Linked DNA regions of Homo sapiens: regions 1 and 2 are each linked to region 3. Evidence: promoter capture Hi-C in human tissues and cell types (Jung and others, 2019). All regions are on one chromosome and are shown on one strand. Each heading gives the region's core, a stretch centred on a gene start or on the middle of the fragment in contact. The rest is flanking DNA. Distances are from core to core; before and after follow the strand shown. Region 1 overlaps ZC3H10 (zinc finger CCCH-type containing 10). Region 2 overlaps CNPY2 (canopy FGF signaling regulator 2). Region 3 holds the start of MMP19 (matrix metallopeptidase 19).

What was found. Contacts are between HindIII fragments. The study calls those that stand out against the background at their distance.
Region 1: a fragment that was not itself captured here is called in contact with the fragment with the promoter of MMP19 in region 3 in 1 of the 25 tissues and cell types used here (liver).
Region 2: a contact is called between a fragment that was not itself captured here and the fragment with the promoter of MMP19 in region 3, in 1 of the 25 tissues and cell types used here (dorsolateral prefrontal cortex).

The regions. Positions count from the first base shown.
Region 1 is chr12:56,123,787-56,126,486 of GRCh38, reverse strand. ZC3H10 (zinc finger CCCH-type containing 10) reads right to left here. Exons shown (of 3, transcript NM_032786.3): 3 at 1-2,700. Among named protein-coding and RNA genes, the nearest start is that of ESYT1, 3.1 kb to the left of the region's middle. RefSeq lists an enhancer at 1-247. The HindIII fragment of the contact is 4,314 bases long and covers 1-2,700 here.
Region 2 is chr12:56,308,068-56,310,767 of GRCh38, reverse strand. It overlaps CNPY2 (canopy FGF signaling regulator 2), which reads left to right. Exons shown (of 6, transcript NM_014255.7): 6 at 173-924. The coding sequence ends at 216. Among named protein-coding and RNA genes, the nearest start is that of CNPY2-AS1, 2.0 kb to the left of the region's middle. The HindIII fragment of the contact is 3,127 bases long and covers 1-2,700 here.
Region 3 is chr12:55,841,512-55,844,211 of GRCh38, reverse strand. MMP19 (matrix metallopeptidase 19) reads left to right here and starts at 1,276. Exons shown (of 9, transcript NM_002429.6): 1 at 1,276-1,468; 2 at 1,774-1,859. The coding sequence starts at 1,382. The HindIII fragment of the contact is 8,931 bases long and covers 1-2,700 here.

The DNA of each region.
Region 1 (2,700 bases), core at 36-2,535, 280 kb before region 3:
GATAAAACTTCATCCTCAGGAAGTTCTTGTCCCAGCTGGGGCCCAGGAGCCACAGGATCAGCAGCTGCAATGCAGTTACCAACACAAGTAAACAGGGTGGGTCCCCGCCCACTGACAATTCTGCTGCCCAGGTGCCACCTGGTGGTGATAAGCAGTAAGTGGACAACAGGAAGGGATGCCCATTTGTTAGAGGAAGTGTCTTACAGGATGAGGCCTACAGGAGGAGAGAGAGTAAACTTCCTGGACTTGCAATCTGCATTTATATGTAAACCATAATCACCTCCAAGAGGCAGAGGGTGAGATACGGTACTCTGATCTCAGCTCACAAAGATGGGAAGGGCAACAAGATTTGAGGAAACTCCTTCTGTATTCTTTATTCCTCAAAAGTTACTGCCAAGCCAGTCGCGGTGGCTCATGCCTGTAATCCCAGCACTTTGGAAGGCCGAGGCAGTTGGATCACCTGAGGTCAGGAGTTCAAGACCAGCCTGGCCAACATGGCGAAACCCCGTCTCTACTAAAAATACAAAAATTAGCCGAGCATGGTGGCATGTACCTGTAATCCCAGTTACTCTACTTGGGAGGCTGAGGCAGGAGAATCACTTGAACCCGAGAGGCGGAGGCTGCAGTGGGCCGAGATCACGCCACTACACTCCAGCCTGGGCAACAGAGTGATACTCCGTCTCAAAAAAAAAAAAAAAAAATTACTGCCAAGTAGTGATCGCTTTGTTGGATGGCTATATCATTAGAACTTTCTTTTGTCGTCTGGAGTGAGACTGCCTGAATAGATTCCTGGCCCCATTCCTTACTTGCAGAACCCTGGGCAGGTTACTTTTTAAGCCTGCTTTCTCCTCTGTAAAATGGGTACAATAATATTACCCATTGTGTCAATGAGATGTTGCATGTAAAGTGCCTAGCACAGAGCCTTGGCTTATATTAAGCAGTCAACAAATGCTAGCCGGCTGGGTGCGGTGGCTCAACGCCTGTAATCCCAGCACTTTGGGAGGCCGAGGTGGGCGGATCACGAGGTCAGGATATGGAGACCGTCCTGGCTAACACGGTGAAACCCCGTCTCTACTAAAAATACAAAAAGAAAATTAGCTGGGCACCTATAGTCCCAGCTACTCTGGAGGCTGAGGCAGCAGAATGGCGTAAACCCTGGAGGCAGAGTTTGCAGTGAGCAGAGATCGTGCCACTGCACTGAAGCCTGGGCCACACAGCTAGACTCCGTCTCAAAAAAAAAAAAAAAAAAAAAGTTAGCCATTATTCTAGAAATCCCTTTTTACTTCCTGTGTAGCAAACAGGATCTTCCTCCACTGGGCAGCCCTTCAAATATTTGAAGACTTCTATTTGAAGCTTTCTCTTGCCAGCCTTTTTTTTCTAGCAACACACTGGTTTGTCAATGGCCCTCTTTAAAAATTACATTTAGAACAACACACTACTAAGTGGTTACACTTAGGCAGAACATAGAACTGCTGTATTTGTAATCTATTACCAAGGTTCTACTACCCTTATGGAGCTCCTAGAAAGATGCCTAGAACATAGCAGGCTCTTAATAAATATTTATAAATGGACATCTTGAGGGCTAAGATTCTATTTTTTTGCAGCCAACTGGAAGTCCCAGTTTGTTCTCATGTGAATTATTGCTAATATAAATCTCTAACATTGTTCCTCAAACTAGTTCAAGATCTAAGCAATTTTTTAGTGTGAGAGTGCTCCAGTGTTTTAGTCAATTCAAGTTACAGACACTTTGAATATTATTTAGCTCTTCCTGTGTTACTGTTGATAAATGGGTTTTTTACATGTTTACCCGAGTTGGGTTTTTTCTTTTTACAATAAAACATAGCCCTTGGGCTTATCACTAGAGAACAGAGATTTCTCTAACATAAATGCGCTAACCAACACTAAGTACAAGTGTTCAGTTTGATTCTACCAAATGCTACTATTTTTTTCTCATTATTTTTTAACCAGAGCCATTTGCATGGAAAAAATGCTACGATTAACTGACCCGTAATTTTCCTCTTATCTGTGATGACTTAGCAGGTGAGAGAGAGGAAAGTAGCTCCTGTAATCTGGGAACTGGCCTGACACAGCCAGGCTTCAGAGCTGTTAGGGCTGACCTGGTGCTCACAGGTAGCCAATGAGTTCTCTTGGACACAAACAATCTCACAAAACACCAGCATCAGACAAGGTCACTCAGTGACTGCGATGAAGTGAGACAAAAAACAAAATCACTACACAATTTTGTTTAAGCACAAAACAAGGTCAGTGTGCAAACCACAAAACAGCAAACATCCCCTTTCCCAGCTAGTGAGTGACTTCATCATCGACTGTGCTTAGGTTCACTTGTCTGCCCTTCTTCTAGACAAGCTACCCAATTATCCTGGATTCCCTTAACAGCACCCAATCCAAAAGAACACCCACTTTCTTGAATCTTCCCCAAAATCACTTAACCAAAGTCTAAGTTCTCTAAGTCGTTCCTAACACCCTCATGCTGAGACACACCACGTTATCCCCAATGGTGAGCCCTCCCCCTCACTGCAATGAGCATTAAACCCAACTTGCTCAATTACCAGGTGTATTCTTGGTGGTCTTCAGCTGGAGTAAATACATACAAGACATACAATGTCTAAAATTTCCCAAATCTACCTCTTTGGAGATAACCTGGCAAGGAGGAAATAAAGTCAGTCAGGATTTGACTGA
Region 2 (2,700 bases), core at 129-2,628, 470 kb before region 3:
CCCTGAGATACAGGTGAGAGGACAGTGGGGATGTTTTATCATTTATAAGCATATATTCTGCAGAATGGTGGTTGGTGTGTGTTTGTGTCAGCTTGGTCTGGGAAATTTTCTTGATACTGGCAGATATCAGTATGAGAATGGCATATTCCTTTAAATTGTTTGCCATTTGCAGATCTTTGTGACCATGCCCTGCACATATCGCATGATGAGCTATGAACCACTGGAGCAGCCCACACTGGCTTGATGGATCACCCCCAGGAGGGGAAAATGGTGGCAATGCCTTTTATATATTATGTTTTTACTGAAATTAACTGAAAAAATATGAAACCAAAAGTACAAACTGTGTTGTCTTTTCATGCCTGGAATTGCCCTTACATTAAGCTTGAAGATAAGGAGTTATATAGACAGGAAAGATAATGGAGGAGAAAGAAGAGTTTTGGGATTGATACAGGATAAAGGTAGGAGAGGCCTGAACCTTTAATTCTTCTACCTTCTGAGATTCCACTCCACTCATAAACTAGATAAGCTTTCAGTCAGTGCCCACTCAATACCACGTCTTTAGAGTCTAATTGTGGAGAATAGAGGAACCTCCATGAGGAAGCAGGGGAACATAGTGTATGGTAGTGTAGAATTCTAGAAATCCCTTGTGTTCATGGCTGTTGAAACATAAAGTAAGACAGGGCTTGGTCTTGAAGGAAATAACGGATATGCATTATTCTTCCTTCCCTGCCCATCCAGATGGAGGGACCAGCAAGAACAGAGACAGGAAGGGGAAAATGGATGTGACCAACTCAGCTGAAAAGTAAGGGCTTTATCGGATAGGGACAGACGAGGTAAGGAAGGTTGTTTAATGAGAGGCCTTGCTTGCCAGCCTAAGCTTTTAAATTTGATGCCAGTGGCAACAATAAAGTGTATCTATCACTAGCCATTGTCAATCTGGACTATAAGTCTGTCCACAATTCTGTGTGTAGAGATTCCAGACTGGGGCATAGGGATGAAAACCTAAAGGATACCTTCTTTTGGGAAATTCTTTTTTTCTTTTTTTTTCTGAGATGGAGTCCCGCTCTGTCGCCTAGGCTGGAGTACAGTGGCGCGATCTCGGCTCACTACAAGCTCTGCCTCCCAGGTTCACGCCATTATCCTGACTCAGCCTCCCGAGTAGCTGGGACTACAGGCGCCCGCCACCACACCGGCTAATTTTTTTTTTTTTTTTTTTGTGAGACAGAGTCTCGCTCTATCGCCCAGGCTGGAGTACAGTGGCGCGATCTCGGCTTACTGCAAGCTTCGCCTCCCGGGTTCACACCATTCTCCTGCCTCAGCCTCCCAAGTAGCTGGGACTATAGGCACCCGCCACCACGCCCGGCTAATTTTTTGTATTTTTAGTAGAGACGGGGTTTCACCATGTTAGCCAGGATGGTCTCGATCTCCTGACTTCGTGATCCGCCCGCCTTGGCCTCCCAAACTGCTGGGATTACAGGCGTGAGCCACCGCGCCCGGCCTGCACTGGCTAATTTTTTTGTATTTTTAGTAGAGGCAGGGTTTCACCGTGTTAGCCAGGATGGTCTCGATCTCCTGACCTCATGATCCGCCCGCCTTGGCCTCCCCAAATGCTGGGATTACTGGTGTGAGCCACCGCACCTGGCAGAAAATTCTTAAGCACTCTGAGCTTGAGGTATGGTTGTCTCAGGGTTTCAAATGGAATATCTCCGGTCCCAAGAACACCTCAAGGAGAGAAGACCTGAATAAACATTTCAAAGGTTTTAAAAATTACATCATTTTAGAATCTAAAGGAACCTTAGAGGTCGTCTGGTTCACCTCTGCCCATTTTATTGATGAAGAAGCTGAGGCCCAGAGAAGCCATAGAACTTTATGAAGTTCTGTATTTAATGGCAAAACTGGGTCTATAAGCTAACTTTCCCAAGTGCTGACCTGATCTAATATAGCTATAGAGTACCTTCTATTTTAAGTCTTTTTTCTCTAATAATACCTTGCACTAAGCCTGGCGCATAGAATGCATATATTCCACAAAGCTTTCTTGTACCAAAAATCCCTGTGAAATCTGACAAATTAACTAGAGCACAGAGCAAGCACTCTGATATTTGTTGTCAACTAATATCAGCCTGGTGTTAATTCCATCTTCTCCCATCATCCATAAGAAATGCTGTGTTCGCTCTAGTTTTCCAAACCAACTATTATAAAGCTTATTTTTTCTTCTATGATGCATATAAGTAATAATTACATTTTTTCATGTCCCTGAAAGTATACCCAAGGTGCTGTCCATTTCGTGCTTCGTGCCTAAAAATGCCTTTCTTTTCCATCAGAAAGCTTATCAGAAGTATAAATGAGAGTACTCTTCAAGCCAAATGCGGTGGCTCGTGCCCATAATCCCAACACTTTGGGAGGCCAAGGTGGAAGGATCATGATCACTCGAGTCCAGGAGTTTGAGACCAGCCTAGGCAATATAGTGAGACCCCATTGCTACAAAAAATACAAAAATTAGCCGGCATAATGGTGTGCACCTGTGGTTCCAGCGACTCTGGAGGCCAAGGTGGCAAGATCTCTCGAACCCAGGAGGCTGAGGCTGCACTGAGCTGTGATTGCACTACTGCACTCTAGCCTAGGCAACAGAGTGAGACCCTGTCTCAAATACAATAAAGAGAGTTCTCTTCTGGAAACTTAAAACTGTTTTAATTTAGAAAA
Region 3 (2,700 bases), core at 27-2,526:
CCAAATTCTGTCTCCCAACCACTTTCCCACCCTGGTCATTCTTTGACAGTGATTTATTAAGCACAGCCTCGAAAGCATGGAGGTGGCCTGGGGTAGGCACTCGGGCTTCAGTGGTGAATGAAGCAGTCGTGACCCTTCTGACTTACTGAGTACAGCAGTCTCTCAGCTCTGCACTTTTACTCAAGACCTGCACTGTCTGTCTCTCAGTATCCTTTTACCCTATCAATTCTTTTTTTTTTTGAGATGGAGTTTTTGCTCTGTTGCCCAGGCTGGAGTGCAATGGTGTGATCTCAGCTCACTGCAACCTCTGCCTCCTGGGTTCACGTGATTCTCCTGCCTCAGCCTGCCGAGTAGCTGGGATTACAGGCGCCCGCCACCATACCTGGCTAATTTTTGTATTTTTAGTAGAAACAAGGTTTCACCATGTTGGTCAGGCTGGTTTCGAACTCTTGATCTCAAGTGATTCACCCACCTCAGCCTTTCAAAGTGCTAGGATTACAGGAGCGAGCCACCATGCCTGGCCTTACCCCATCAATTCTTAGCTGGCCTTCAAAGCCCATCTCAAAGCCTGACTTCTCAGCAAACCTCCCCCCAGCCCCAAGCCCCTTAGGGTGAATCACCTCTGGCCTGGCACGCTGGCTCCCCTCTTCCCAGGTGTCTGGATCTGCCTCACTGGATCCGTAAGCTCCCTGAGGGTAGGCTCTGGGCCCTTTACTTATTTGTGCCCTTGTTAAGTCCCACCTACACCCACATATTCCAGGCTCATTAGATTCTTGAAATAATGACTTTTTATTAAAGCAGACATAAGTAGGTTGCAGGAGCATCTATATTCCCAACTTGGTCTTGGGTACAAAGAAACTGAGACTTCACGCTTGACTCCTTCACCTGAAACCCAAGCTACCTCAGCTGTTTCCTACCTCTCAGCTTATTCTAGGGAGACTCAAAGGTAGGGGCGGAGTGATTTGCTGGCCCAGGGTCCCTGAGGCACATTGATGTCTAATTCCAGGGGATGTCCATGATCCCTATCTCTAGTCTCTCCAGAGATTCTGGTTCTCGTCCTGCCTGGATGCTCACCCTAGGGCAGTATGAAGTTTTTCCATCTCCAGCAGAGGACTCTGAGGGAAGCGATTGGGAACTCTCTTTGGCTTCCGCTCTCTGGTAGGGCAAGGGTTAATGGTGAATTGCAACATATCTCTTGGCTGAGTCACCTCCCTCTGCCTCTCCCCCAAATTCCCCTCAGCTGTTATAAAGAGGACTAGAGGCTGGAGAGTAAAAAGAACTGGGGGTAAGAGCCCCTCTGCCTAGCACTGCTCCCCCAAGGCTCCCAGAAATCTCAGGTCAGAGGCACGGACAGCCTCTGGAGCTCTCGTCTGGTGGGACCATGAACTGCCAGCAGCTGTGGCTGGGCTTCCTACTCCCCATGACAGTCTCAGGCCGGGTCCTGGGGCTTGCAGAGGTGGCGCCTGTGGTAAGTCCCCCAAGAAAGAGACCTGGGCCAGCGGAGGGACAGGGGTTACTGCTCCACAGCCCCATCGAAGCCTCCCTCCTGACCTTCAGCCTGCCTGCCTTTCCCTTGCTCTCTCTGCCCCATGGTCTACCCTGCCCATCTCCCGCTGCTTCCCCTTGTTCCACCTGAGCCCCTTCTCTAAGGTGCTTCTCCATTAGTGCTTCCATATCAGGTCCCTCCTCTCCTGATGGATCTGTTAGGTCACTTAGAAGCTTTACTCTGAGACTAACCCCCTTTTAACCTGCTTACCTCCACTCCCATCATAGGACTACCTGTCACAATATGGGTACCTACAGAAGCCTCTAGAAGGATCTAATAACTTCAAGCCAGAAGATATCACCGAGGCTCTGAGGTGAGAAGCTATGAGGTGTATGCCTTTAGGGCTAAGGTCTCAAGGTCTTCTTCCTTCTCATCCCTTCCTCTCCCCAGGCCCACCTCCTCCTGACCCTAAACCATGCCAGGGATTTAGAGATGGGTGGCGATCATTATTATGGTGGTGGGGCATGGGGTGAGATGGGGATTCACAGATGAGGAATACAGGCATTGGATCTTCCTAGGCCATAAGCATTCCTTTGGAGTCTCTACCCACATCATATCTCAAATACTAATATTTAGTTATAGTCCACATAAAGTGTAATGATATGTAAAACTGAGTTGAGTTGTTGACATGCTATTACCTTTTGTGGGCCTTCAATTTGGTACTTATTTATTTCTATTTTATAGTTTTATATGTTGATGTAATGGATTATTTTTCTTTCTGCTCTCAGATATGTTCAGGTCCCTTGAAAAGCCCCTAGGCCCTATGACAGTCCATAGATGGATGAAATTGCTCCAGGGCAAGCTGGGCTGGGACGGGTATCCATTCAGGAAGGGAGAAGGCTGAAGGAGGACAGGCTGTCAGGTGGGAGCACTAGTGGAAAGCTCTCCAGAGCAGGGGAGCCAGACACCTCCACAGAGTAGGAGAAGGTTAGAAATTGCAGTAGAGGGGCTGGGCATGGTGGCTCACGCCTGTAATCCCAGCACTTTGGGAGATCCAGGCAGGGGGATTGCTTGAGCCCAGAAGTTTGACAGCAACCTGGGCAACATAATGAGACCCCATCTCTACCAAAAAAGAAAGAAAGGAAGAAAGAAAGAGAGAAGAAAAAGAAAGGAAGGAAGGAAGGAAGGAAGGAAGGAAGGAAGGAAGGAAGGAA